3 separate regions of the Homo sapiens genome follow, and all the other regions are linked to region 1. Evidence: promoter capture Hi-C in 16 types of primary human blood cells and fetal thymus (Javierre and others, 2016). All regions are on one chromosome and are shown on one strand. The core of a region is centred on a gene start or on the middle of the fragment in contact, and the rest is flanking DNA. Distances in the headings are between cores, read along the strand shown. Region 1 holds the start of ATE1 (arginyltransferase 1). Region 2 overlaps LOC105378519 (a long non-coding RNA gene). Region 3 overlaps FAM24B (family with sequence similarity 24 member B).

Region 1 (3,919 bases), core at 1,420-3,919:
TTTGTTAAAAATGTGTTTGAAGACAGTATGCTTGGTAAAAGTCATTGATATTCTCTAATCTCGAGTATCCAGGGACACAATGCACTGTGGAAGGCCACAGGGACCTCTGCCCAGGAAAGCCAGGTATTGTCCAAGGTTTCTCCCCATGTGATAGCCTGAGATATGGCCTCGTGGGAAGGGAAAGACCTGACCGTCCCCCAGCCCATAAAGGGTCTGTGCTGAGGAGGATTAGTGAAAGAGGAAGGCCTCTTTGCAGTTGAGGTAAGAGGAAGGCATCTCTCTCCTGCTTTTCCTTGGGAATGGAATGTCTCAGTGTAAAACTCGATCATACGTTCTATTTACTGAGATAGGAGAAAACCGCCTTATGGCTGGAGGTGAGACATGCTGGCGGCAATATTGCTCTTTACTGCACTAAAATGTTTGTGTAAAGCCAGACATAAATCTGGCCTACGTGCACATTGAGGCATAGCACCTTTCCTTAAACTTATGACACAGAGATCTTTGCTCACGTTTTCCTGCTGACCCTCTCCCCACCATTACTCTATAGTCCTGCCACATCCCCCTCACCGAGATGGTAGAGATAGTGATCAATAAATACTGAGGGAACTCAGAGACCAGTGCTGGCGCGGGTCCTCCGTATGCTGAGCCCTGGTCCTCTGGGCCCACTGTTCTCTACACTTTGTCTCTGTGTCTTACTTTTTTTCTCAGTCTCTCGTCCCACCTGACGAGAAACACCCACAGGTGTGGAGGGGCTGGCCCCCTTCAACAAGTCACCAGGCCACCAAGAAACCTCCTTCAGCTAGGTACATATCTAACACAGGCCCTTGGGGTCAAGAATGTCAAAACTCACCTCAAAAATTTATTTCTATTTCTCTGAGTTTCATTTCACTTTTTTAAACACACTTAAAACAATATTGTATCATCAGCTTTATTGTTGACTGGGAAAACTATGAGGACAGACAGGCTTAAATTATCTGTGCACGCAGAGGGAAAGATAAGGCATATTACCTTGTTGGAACTCTTTTTTTTTTTTTTTGAGATGGAGTCTCGCTCTTTCGCCCAGGCTGGAGTGCAGTGACGCGATCTCTGCTCACTGCAAGCTCTGCCTCCCGGGTTCACGCCATTCTCCTGCCTCAGCCTCCCGAGTAGCTGGGACTACAGGCGCGTGCCACCACGTCCCGCTAATTTTTTGTATTTTTTAGTAGAGAAGGGGTTTCACCATGTTAGCCAGGATGGTCTCTTATCTCCTGACCTCGTGATCCACCCGCCTCGGCCTCCCAAAGTGCTGGGATTACAGGCGTGAGCCACCGCGCCCGCCCCTGGAACTCATTTTTTAAAAAATTTTTTTGAGATGGAGTCTTGCTCTGTCACACAGGCTGGAGTGCAGCGGCGTGATCTCGGCTCACTGCAAGCTCCGCCTCCCGGGTTCACACCATTCTCCTGCCTCAGCCTCCCGACTAGCTGGGACTACAGGCGCCCACCACCACGCCAGGCTGATTTTTTGTATTTTTAGTAGAGACGGGGTTTCACGTGTTAGCCAGGATGGTCTCAATCTCCTGACCTCATGATACGCCCGCCTCGGCCTCCCAAAGTGCTGGGATTACAGGCATGAGCCTCAATTTTATATTTTGCCCTAGACTCTTATTCCTTAAATCTTCCTTAAAATAGTGGTTGCAAAATGGAGGCCCATGGGCTGGATTCAGCCTGTAAAACTGTTTTGTTTGGACTGTAGAGTTAAAAAAAACAAACAAACCCTGTATTTCCAGCATCTCATTAAAAATCGTATGAGGCACCGGACTTATAGTGGTACAAGACAGCAACTGTCTCTAGCTGACAGTTGTTTCCTTTAAAAGCCGTTAAGAGTTCTTTAATTTGCGAACCCTCGCCATTCACGGAATACCTGCTTGTGTTCTTGTATTCAGGGCACTGGAGTGCGTGCCAGCTGGTCTGGAAGCAGCTCCAGCAAGTCACTTACACGGTGGCCAGGGGCGGCCTGACTTTCAATCCGAGACCCGCCGGGAATGACTTTGGGATAATCACAACCTCCGGTCCTCAGTTTCCTTACCTGTGAAATGGGGCTGATAACGCACAGCTGTGGGAAGCACCGGCCCAAACGCAGGGCTTGGGGACACGACCACCATCCCCGCCCACGGGTCCCCGCGCCAGGCTTCGCTCTCCACCCCTCCCGCCGCGGGCCCCAGCGCTTCGCCGAGGTCGGCCCCGGGCGCCAAGAGGCGTGGTCGGCCCGAGCGGACCCTCGCGGCGGCCATGGCGTCGGTGGTGGAATACAAGGGCCTCAGGGCCGGCTACCACTGCGGCTACTGCGATTCCAAGGAGGGCAAAGCGTCCTGCGGTGAGTGTTCCCGACGCCGGAGTTGGCGCGGCCGCCGCGCCCCGCACAGGCCCTCGGCGGGGGAAAGGGCAGGCTCGCACCCCGACTCCCGCTTCCCTTCCCCTCTTGACTCTCCCCATCCTGTTTCCCTTCCCGCTCTGTCTCTCCGCCTCACCCTCACTGACGACGGCGGCCCCTTATGGAGAAGGAACGGAAATAGTGGAAAGCTGCCCTCGGTCAAGATGGCGCGGGCGGCGTCAGCTCCAAGAGGCGCCGGGCCGGCCGGGCCTGCGGGCGCCCGAGTGGCTTCGCGCGAGCCTCGGGAGGCTCCCGGGCGGCGCGCTGCATTGTGGGGTGGCGGCGGCGGCCGCGCTAGCGACGCGGGGCCGGGCGGCTGAGCGTTCGCGGGGCCGAGGCCATGGCTTTCTGGGCGGGGGGTTCGCCCAGCGTCGTGGACTATTTCCCTAGCGAGGACTTCTACCGCTGCGGCTACTGCAAGAACGAGTCGGGCAGCCGCTCCAATGGTGAGCGAGCCGGGCCGGCGGGCGTGGGAAGCCGGGCGCCCGGGTCTCGGGATCCCAGGGTCCCCCAGCGAGGACGCGAGGGGGCCGGAGCCCCTGGCCCCAGTGCCACGGCCGAGACGGAGGGGGCACTCTCGGGAGGGCCGCGGCGCCGGCTTAGCGGGGCAGCTTCGCGGTGCCTGTTCTGCAGGAAAATCCTAACCGGTGCCCGTACTCTCGAAATCGTGGTGGTCTCCCCAGAGTCGGGAGACGGACGCCCGTCTGGGGTAGATTGTGTGAGGTGAAGGACGGCGCGCAGTGCCAGGGAACGCCCCAGAGCCGTAGTTAATGGCCGGGGCTGACCGGTGGGTGCTGCGGTGGGAGCGTCCCGGGAGCGAGGGCGAAACGCGGTGCAGAGGGAGCTGTGGGTGTGCACACAGGTGCCGGTCATGTATGAATCAGACTTCCCTGGACGAATGTACAGGAAGGATGAGCCCTTTGCATCTCTGGGTTAAAAAAAAAAAAAGTTAAAAAAAAAAAGGACAAGAAACTGGTGACCGCGGTCGCTACCGGCGAGGGATTCTGTTTGTCCTGATCTGTTTGAAATTTTTACCATTTGCTTATATGCCGTGTCTTTCCTCCACCCACCCGGACGACAGCAAAGCCAGCCCACAAGTTTGTTTTGTTTTTCCATCGTGATTCAGATTTCTTTGGGGGAGATTTGTTGCTGGTAAACAAAACATCGTGTTTATTTCCTCTCTTGCCATGCATTTGCCAATATAGAATGTAGACTCTATTATTTTAATAGAACAGTCTAGCTTTGTGGAAAACGAGATTCGCATGAAAACACACAGGCATTTTCCATGAAAAAGGTGTAAGTGGGGAATGATTTGGTCGATAACGGTGTGTGCATTTGCTCCTTCATTAAAAGTGTTTATTAAGTGCTACTTGTGGGCAGCGGTTTTGAGTAGACAGTTATGCAATCGTTAGAAGTGAGGATTATGAAGACTAAATGGAAAAATGCTTCCAGTTTGGACTTAAACGGAGAAAATCAACAGGATGCAAATGGCTTATGCGACATGATTAC
Region 2 (3,919 bases), core at 518-3,017, 980 kb after region 1:
TTTAGTGGGGACGCCGTGGTCAGCTCTGAGCTGTTCCTACTGTTCTTAGTGGAGGTAGCAAGACCCCCGTCTCTCCTGGTGGGTAGTGTGGATGTCGCACAGACAGAAGCTCAGGTGGCAAAGGGTCGTGGAAACTTCTGCACCTTCCAGAATACGTGGGTCCATGGACGTGGACCCACGGCCACGTTAAGGCTCATGTTCATTTGTTCAGTTCACTTATTTAATTCATTTGTTCAGTGGTTCCTTCATTAATTCAGTCAATAATATTGTCTTGAGCACTTACTGTGTGCCAGAACCCAAGGTCGGGGCTAAGGATAGAAAAGAGAACTCGGGAGGCTGAAGCAGGAGAATCGCTTGAACCCGGGAGGCGGAGGTTGCAGTGAGCCGAGATCACCACTGCACTCCAGCCTGGGTGACAGAGTGAGAGTCTCCGTCTCAAAAATAGAAAAAAAAAAGAAAGAAAGAAAGAAAGAAAAAGTAACAGAAAAGATGGCTTACAGTCTTTCTTGCCAGTCTCATGAGGCCAGAATATTTGAAAAAAGCATAAATTAAGATACACAGGATTATGAAACAAACCGATTATACTGTCATGCAGTTATCAAAATATTTTTAAGTGGTGCTATACTCGTATATGTTCTTCGTTGATAGAGGATGTAACAGGATCTACAGACCAATCTATTAACTACAGTCATTTCAAAATAGTGATTAGCCCAGCTGATATTTTGAGATAACTGCATCAACTACGACGTGATAGAAAAACAGCTGTGATTTCTGTTGGAGACAAAGTCACAGACACTGCTAATACACTGTGGCTTGTTGCCGATTTTCATAATTGAGTAAATTGTTAAATCTCAGACAGTGAAAATAATGATATAAATATTTTCCTGTCCAAGTTCATAGACCCCCCTCCTCCAGATTTTATTCACAGACTCCTCGATTAAAAAGCCAGATCGGTGAGCAGAAATAAACAGGGTGAGTGTGGACAGTGATGAGCACTTGGAGGAAATCAACAGGGAGAGAGACTAACGATAAAATCAGAAGGGAGGCCCTGTGTGGGATGCAATGGTCGGGAAACGCCTGGATGAGACCACAGTTCACTCTAAAAGCCCCATACAGAGGTCGGAAACAGCTACCAGGGACTCTGATTTAGCCTGTAAATCTGCACAGTCTTCTTGAACATTTAGATCTGGTGTTCAGGACTGGACTCGGCTTTTGACCACAAGGCCTCCCAATCCGGGAAGTCCAGGTCAGCCTCGTGGACATCCAGAGATTTCATCCCAGGGCACTGAAAGTGAAATCTCTGCCTGGGCCCTGAAGCCACTTGATTTTGCAACTTTACCACCTAAACTTTCCTGGGTCACTCTTGGGGCAACCCATCCAGGGCAAGGGTAGTTTGCATGGCAAATGGAACTTTCCAAAGTTTAACTTGAAAAAGATGGTCGGCATCGGTGTCCTATTTAGAAACCAGGCTCCTTCCAGCCTGGGGATCCCCTGAACCTTCCAGATCTTTATCCAACTTTCATTCAAGCTGTGATTCCCCGGTGCCCCTTCTAAGCCAGCAGCTGTGTGACATCTCTGTTCTCATCCACCCATTTCCAGGCAGCAGCGTGTTGGGGGTGGTTAGGGAGTGTAGTGCTGGGTCACAGGCAGCCTTTGTAACTGCATATGAACCAGTGTGGCAAGCTTGCAGGATGATGTCAGAGCTGGCACCGGCAAAGAACAACTTTGTTGACAAGAAGATTAATTAGACAAATGTAGTGCCCATCAGTTATTGCCACCGCCTCCTCGGGGGTCAGCTCTAGTCAGGCCTTTGCTAGAGATTTTTTTTTTCATCTTTTTAGAGAAAGCTTAATCTCCTAACAAGGCAGCCAAGAAACAGTTCATGGCGTGCCAGAAGAGCAAGTGCATACAAGCATGTTCTGAAGTGAGGGTGCCTGCACACCGCCAGGCTGCAGGGCTGGGGCTGGCCCAGGCTTGGAGCCAACTGGGCCTCTTCCTTCTACCTGTACAGACCCAGCCCCAGGAAGCGTGTTGAGCCCCGAATCCTTCCTCACAAGAGAAGACACCCATTTGTGAGCTCTCTTGGCCTCTCTTCCTCTCTTTCCTGGGAGAGCTGCCCCTTTCATGGAGGGGCGGGCAGACAGCCATGCAGGGTCTTCAGAGCTCGGAGGCTTCCGCCACCTACACCTTCCCTCTTTATCCAAAAGGCACCTGCCCCATTGTCCCATTGTGGGAAGAGGCAATGAATGAATTGCTGAGTGGTAGCGGCCTTATTCATCATTCATCAAATACTCAGTAGGTTTATGGGCATATTATATCCCAGCAACACTGCAGTAAAGGAATGATTCCCATGTATCAGGCCCTGGCCCTGGGGAAGGGGTTATATTCTAGAGGGGGAGGCATGGCAATGAGTAAAATAAATACTCCAAGAAGCTCATCTGCACCAGTGGTAAAGGCCAAGAAGGAGCTAGGAGAGGGGATGTGGTGTTGAGGGCCGGGAGATGGCAGCCATTTTGGAAAAGGTGCCCCTGAGGAGGTGAAATTGAATTGAAACTTGAGGAGGGAGAGAATCTGTGGGGAAGAGCTGACTTCCTGTTGGCTGCAGGGGACAGGAAACTGAGAGTGCCAAGGGAGGGGATGTTCTGTGGATATCTGTTGACTGCATGAATAAAACAAAATGTTTCCAAGCTGTGCTTCTCACACTTTAGTGTTGTGTTAGAATCCTTGGGAAGGAGGGTCTTGTTAAAACATAGATGTCCAGCTCCACTGATTCAGAAGGGCTGGTGCAGGGCCCAGAGAGCTGCATTTTAACAGCCCCCGCCTCCAGGCAGCCCTCCCAGTCCCTCCTGGAGCCCCATCTCCAGGCAGGCGCTCAGCCCTGGATTGCAGCCCTGTCTGTCTGTCAGGCCTACCTGAGGTTTCAGAAAGGCCTCACAGTCAGGCTCCCAGGGGCCCAAAGCCAGTGTGGCTTCAGTGGGACCAACCTGACAGCTCCTTATAACTCTAAGGCCTCCACCTCCCACTGGCCAGCAAGGAGCCCTGGTGGGCAGGGGTGGGGCCTGCTCTGTCTCATCAGGCTATGCCCTATCTAGGGCAAGGGGTCCCTGGGGCTGGGGATGGGCTTCCCCTGGATCCTGTACCCTGCCTTTTAGAGTCACGGATACCTGGAACCCTGAGCCAACCTCCAGGTTTGTGTGGGCCTCTCTCCCTGGGTCCATCATTCTTCTGTGGGTGATGGCTCAGCTGGAACTGGGTGGGGGCGTGGATATGTGGGGCTAGTGGGTATACACACCTGTACACACACACACACGTGTGTGCACTAAAAAGCCAAGTGGGGTGAGGCGTGAAGGGGGTAGGCTGCAGCCTGGCTCTCTGTGCTGCCTTTTTTCGAAAGTCAACTCCTCAGAATTCTAAATTCAAACCTTGCCTTCATGATGATGAAGATGTATTTACCAAGGTAGAAAAATTATGGGTTTTATCTTCTAACAACTGATTGGATTGGTAACCTTTTTTTTTTTTGAGACGGAGCCTTACTCTGTCACCCAAGCTGGAGTGCAATGGCGTGACCTTGGCTCACTGCAACCTCCACCTCCTGGGTTCAAGCGATTCTCCTGCCTCGGCCTCCCAAGTAGCAGGGATTACAGGTGCACGGCGCCGTGCACGGCGCCATGCCCGGCTAATTTTTTTTGTATTTTACTAGAGACGGGGTTTCACTGTGTTGCCCAGGCTGGTCTCGAACTCCTGAACTCAGGCAGTCCACCCGCCTCGGCCTCCCAAAGTGCTAGGATTACAGGCATGAGCCACTATGCCCGGCCCCGGATTGATAACTTTTTAATAATTGACACATGGTATGGGAACTTCGCTTTTATTCTCATCTTGGGCCCCCAGAATGTTAGGATGATTGGAGAGAGTTGCAGGG
Region 3 (3,919 bases), core at 555-3,054, 950 kb before region 1:
CTTGCTAATTCTTCCCTCAGGGTGGGCTGTCTGCATGCTCAGTGGCGTGCCAGCACTAGGGCGGGGCTGTATGCATAGTGTGTTTACTGGAGTTGTATGCATGCTCACTTGAAGCATTCTTCTCTTACCCATCAAATGTTCTTAGAAGGTCATATACCAGTTAAACTCTGCCATTTTGCCTCTTAGTGCACATGCTTGAACCCACTTGTCCAACTCCTGAGATCTTATCGGCAAGCCGTTGATCACCAGTTTCAGGGTTTTTTTTTTTAATTAGGAGACTGCCTTTCCCTAGTGCCAGCTGTGACCAATTATTATCAGACTACATTTTATTTAAAAGGAGTCTCTGGGGATACCCAAAGACAATGACAATGTGGAAACTCAAAGCAAGAATAGTAGATTGAAGCCTCTGACACTGATAACTACAGCAAACATTAAACACAGCCTAACTTCTAGTCAGATTGACATGAATCAAGTAGCCTGATTACCTCAGTTTCTATATATTCTTCCAGATATATTATGTCTGGCTTTCAACAAAGATTTACAAAGCACGGTAAAAGGCAAGAAAGAACAAGAAACAAAGGAAATATCAGAACCATTCTTACATATGATGCAGATTTTGTAATTCTCAAGTAGGGAATTTAAGGTAGCTATGATTGATATATAAGGGCTCTAATGGAAAAAGCAGATAGCATACAAGAGTGAATGGGTAATGTAAGCAGAGATATGGAAACTCTAAGGAAGATATAAAAGGAAATGATAGAAGTCAAAAAACAATGTGACAAATGAATGCCTTTGATGGGTTTATCAGGAGACTGGACAGGCCAAAGAATAAATGAGCTTGAAGAACTGTTAATAAAAACTGAAAAGCAAAGAAAATAGAGATGAAAAAGTAGACTATCCAAGAACTGCTGGACAGTTATAAAACTTGTAATAACATGTATAATGGTAATACCAGAAGTAGAAGAAAGAGAAGAGAGTAGAAGAAATATGTGAGAAATAATGGTTGGGAATTATCCAAAATTAATGACACCAAACCCGTTCTTAGAGCAGGAAGCTTGGAGAACACCAAGCAAGATAAATACTAAAAGGTCTGTACCAGGGGTGCCCCTGGGCTACCCTGGGAAAAGAAGAATTGTCTTGGGCCACACATAAAATGCAGTAACGCTAACAATGGCTGATGAGCTTAAAAATTGCAAAAAAAACCTCATGCTGTTTTAAGAAAGTTTACAAATTTGTGTTGGGTTGCATTCAAAGCCGTCCAGGGCCGTATACAGCCCGCAGGCTGTAGGTTGGACAAGCTTAGTCTGTACCTAGGCATATTATATTCAAGATGGGAAAACCAAAGTCAAAGAGTCATTGAAAGGAGCCAGAGGAAAAAATACATGCTATAGAGGAACAAGAAAAGAATTATATTTCTGATTAGAAACCAAGCAAGAAGGGACTGGAGTGAAATATTTACAATGTTGAAAGAGAAATCACACCAACCTAGAATGTATCCACAAGAATTACCTTTCAGAAGTGAAGGAGACTTAAAGATTTTCTTAAACAAAAGCTAAGGAAATTTGTCAGTGATAAACCTGTGTTGCAAAAAATATTAAAATAAGTTCTCCAGAGGGAAGGAAAATGATCCAAGGTCATGAACTTGGATCTATATAAAGGAAGAGCATCAGAGAAGGAATAAATGAAGGCAAAATAAAATCCTTAATGTATATGTACCTAACAACAGAGCATCAAATATGTGAAGCAAAAATTGATAGAACTGCAAAGAGAAATAGACAAATTCACTATTACTCTTGGAGACTTCAACAACCCTGGATCAGTAATTGACAGTTTCAGCATGCAGAAAATCAGTAAGAATATAGTTGAACTGAATTGTACCATCTGTCCACTGGATCTAATTGGTATTAATAGGACACGTCAACAATAGCAGAATACACATTTTTCTGAAACACTCCTAGAACATTTACCAAGATAGAGCACATTCTAGGCCATAAAACACCCCTTAACAAATGTAAAAGAATAGAAATTATACAAAGTATGTTCCTAGATCACAATGGTATTTAATTAGAAATTTGTAACAGGAAAATACTTGAAAAATCCTAAAATATTTGGAGATTAACAGACATATTTCTAAAATAACACTTGGCTCGAAGTTTCAAGAGAAATTTAAAAATATTTCAAACTAAATGAAAGTGAAAATACAATTCATCAGAATTTGTAGAATTCAACAAGAGCAGTGCTTACAGGGAAACGGAGAGTACTGAGTACATGTTGGAAAAGAATGATCTAAAATCTATTATGTAAGCTTTCACCTTAAGAAACTAGAGAAAGAAGAGCAATATATAGGCACACCTAAGAGATACTGTGAGAAATTGCTATCTATGGCTACTAAAGCCTTATGAAATGTATTTCTTATACAATAAGACTTGAAAGTTGAAATTACTCCTTGATCCATGGGCTGCGGAATGGATGTTGTGTTGGTAGACATGAAAACATTAATCTCCTTGTACATCACCATCCGAGCTCTTGGGTGGCCCTGGCCAAGCATCAGTTAGCACTAATGTATTGAAAGGAACTTTTTTCTGAGCAGGAGGTCACAGCAGGGAGCTTAAAATATTCAGTAAACCAATGTGTTGTCATCCTGGTTTTGTTGTTCCATTTATAAAGCAAAGACAGAGCAGATTTAGCATAATTCTTAAGAGCCCTAGGATTTTCAGAATGGTAAATGAGCGTTGGCTTAAACTTGAAATCATCAGCTATATTAGTCCCCAGCAACAAAGTCAGCCTGACTTTTGAGTCAGAATCAGCTTTGAAGCCAGGCGTTGACCTCTCTAGCTGTGCAAGTCCTAGAGGGCATCTTTGTCCTATAGAAGTCTGTTTTCATCTATACTGAAAATCCATTGTTAAATGTGGCCACCTTCATGAATTATCCTAGCTAGAGCAGCTTCTAGATAACTTGCTGTACCTTCCTGTTACACCTTGCACTTTTATGTTATGGAGATGGTTTATTTTTTAAACCTCATGAACTGACCTCTATTAGCTTCAACCTGTTCTTTTTTTATTTTATTTTATTTTTGTATTGTTATACTTTAAGTTTTAGGGTACATGTGCACAACATGCAGGTTTGTTACATACGTATACATGTGCCATGTTGGTGTGCTGCACCCATTAACTCGTCATTTAACATTAGGTATATCTCCTAATGCTATCCGTCCCCCCTCCTCCCACCCCACCACAGTCCCCAGAGTGTGATGTTCCCCTTCCTGTGTCCATGTGTTCTCATTGTTCAATTCCCACCTATGAGTGAGAACATGCGGTGTTTGGTTTTCTGTCCTTGCGATAGTTTGCTGAGAATGATGGTTTCCAGCTTCATCCATGTCCCTACAAAGGACATGAACTCATCATTTTTTATGGCTGCATAGTATTCCATGGTGTATATGTGCCACATTTTCTTAATCCAGTCTATCATTGTTGGACATTTGGGTTGGTTCCAAGTCTTTGCTATTGTGAATAATGCCACAATAAATATATGTGTGCATGTGTCTTTATAGCAGCATGATTTATAATCCTTTGGGCATATACCCAGTAATGGGATGGCTGGGTCAAATGGTATTTCTACTTCTAGATCCTTGAGGAATCGCCACACTGACTTCCACAATGGTTGAACTAGTTTACAGTCCCACCAACAGTGTAAAAGTGTTCCTGTTTCTCCACATCCTCTCCAGCACCTGTTGTTTCCTGACTTTTTACTGATTGCCATTCTAACTGGTATGAGGTGGTATCTCATTGTGGTTTTGATTTGCATTTCTCTGATGGCCAGTGATGATGAGCATTTTTTCATGTGTTTTTTGGCTGCATAAATATCTTCTTTTGAGAAGTGTCTGTTCATATCCTTCGCCCACTTTTTGATAGGGTTGTT

The links. The method cuts DNA at HindIII sites, captures the fragments that hold promoters and counts their contacts. A CHiCAGO score of 5 or more calls a contact.
Region 2: a contact is called between a fragment that was not itself captured here and the fragment with the promoter of ATE1 in region 1, in 1 of 17 cell types (M2 macrophages). The highest score is 6.6, in M2 macrophages.
Region 3: a contact is called between a fragment that was not itself captured here and the fragment with the promoter of ATE1 in region 1, in 1 of 17 cell types (activated CD4 T cells). The highest score is 5.9, in activated CD4 T cells.

The regions. Positions count from the first base shown.
Region 1 is chr10:121,926,781-121,930,699 of GRCh38, reverse strand. It overlaps ATE1 (arginyltransferase 1), which reads left to right and starts at 2,669. Exons shown (of 12, transcript NM_001001976.3): 1 at 2,669-2,856. The coding sequence starts at 2,751. It also overlaps the pseudogene ATE1OSP. RefSeq lists silencers at 1-266, 2,088-2,387, 2,578-2,997 and enhancers at 1,903-2,769, 3,308-3,457. The HindIII fragment of the contact is 6,802 bases long and covers 1-3,919 here.
Region 2 is chr10:120,943,971-120,947,889 of GRCh38, reverse strand. The region is part of intron 2 of LOC105378519 (a long non-coding RNA gene); the gene reads left to right. Among named protein-coding and RNA genes, the nearest start is that of WDR11, 95 kb to the right of the region's middle. The HindIII fragment of the contact is 164 bases long and covers 1,686-1,849 here.
Region 3 is chr10:122,872,099-122,876,017 of GRCh38, reverse strand. All of the region lies in intron 1 of FAM24B (family with sequence similarity 24 member B), which reads left to right. All of the region lies in intron 1 of FAM24B-CUZD1 (FAM24B-CUZD1 readthrough), which reads left to right. Among named protein-coding and RNA genes, the nearest start is that of FAM24B, 5.5 kb to the left of the region's middle. RefSeq lists an enhancer at 1-228. The HindIII fragment of the contact is 1,007 bases long and covers 1,301-2,307 here.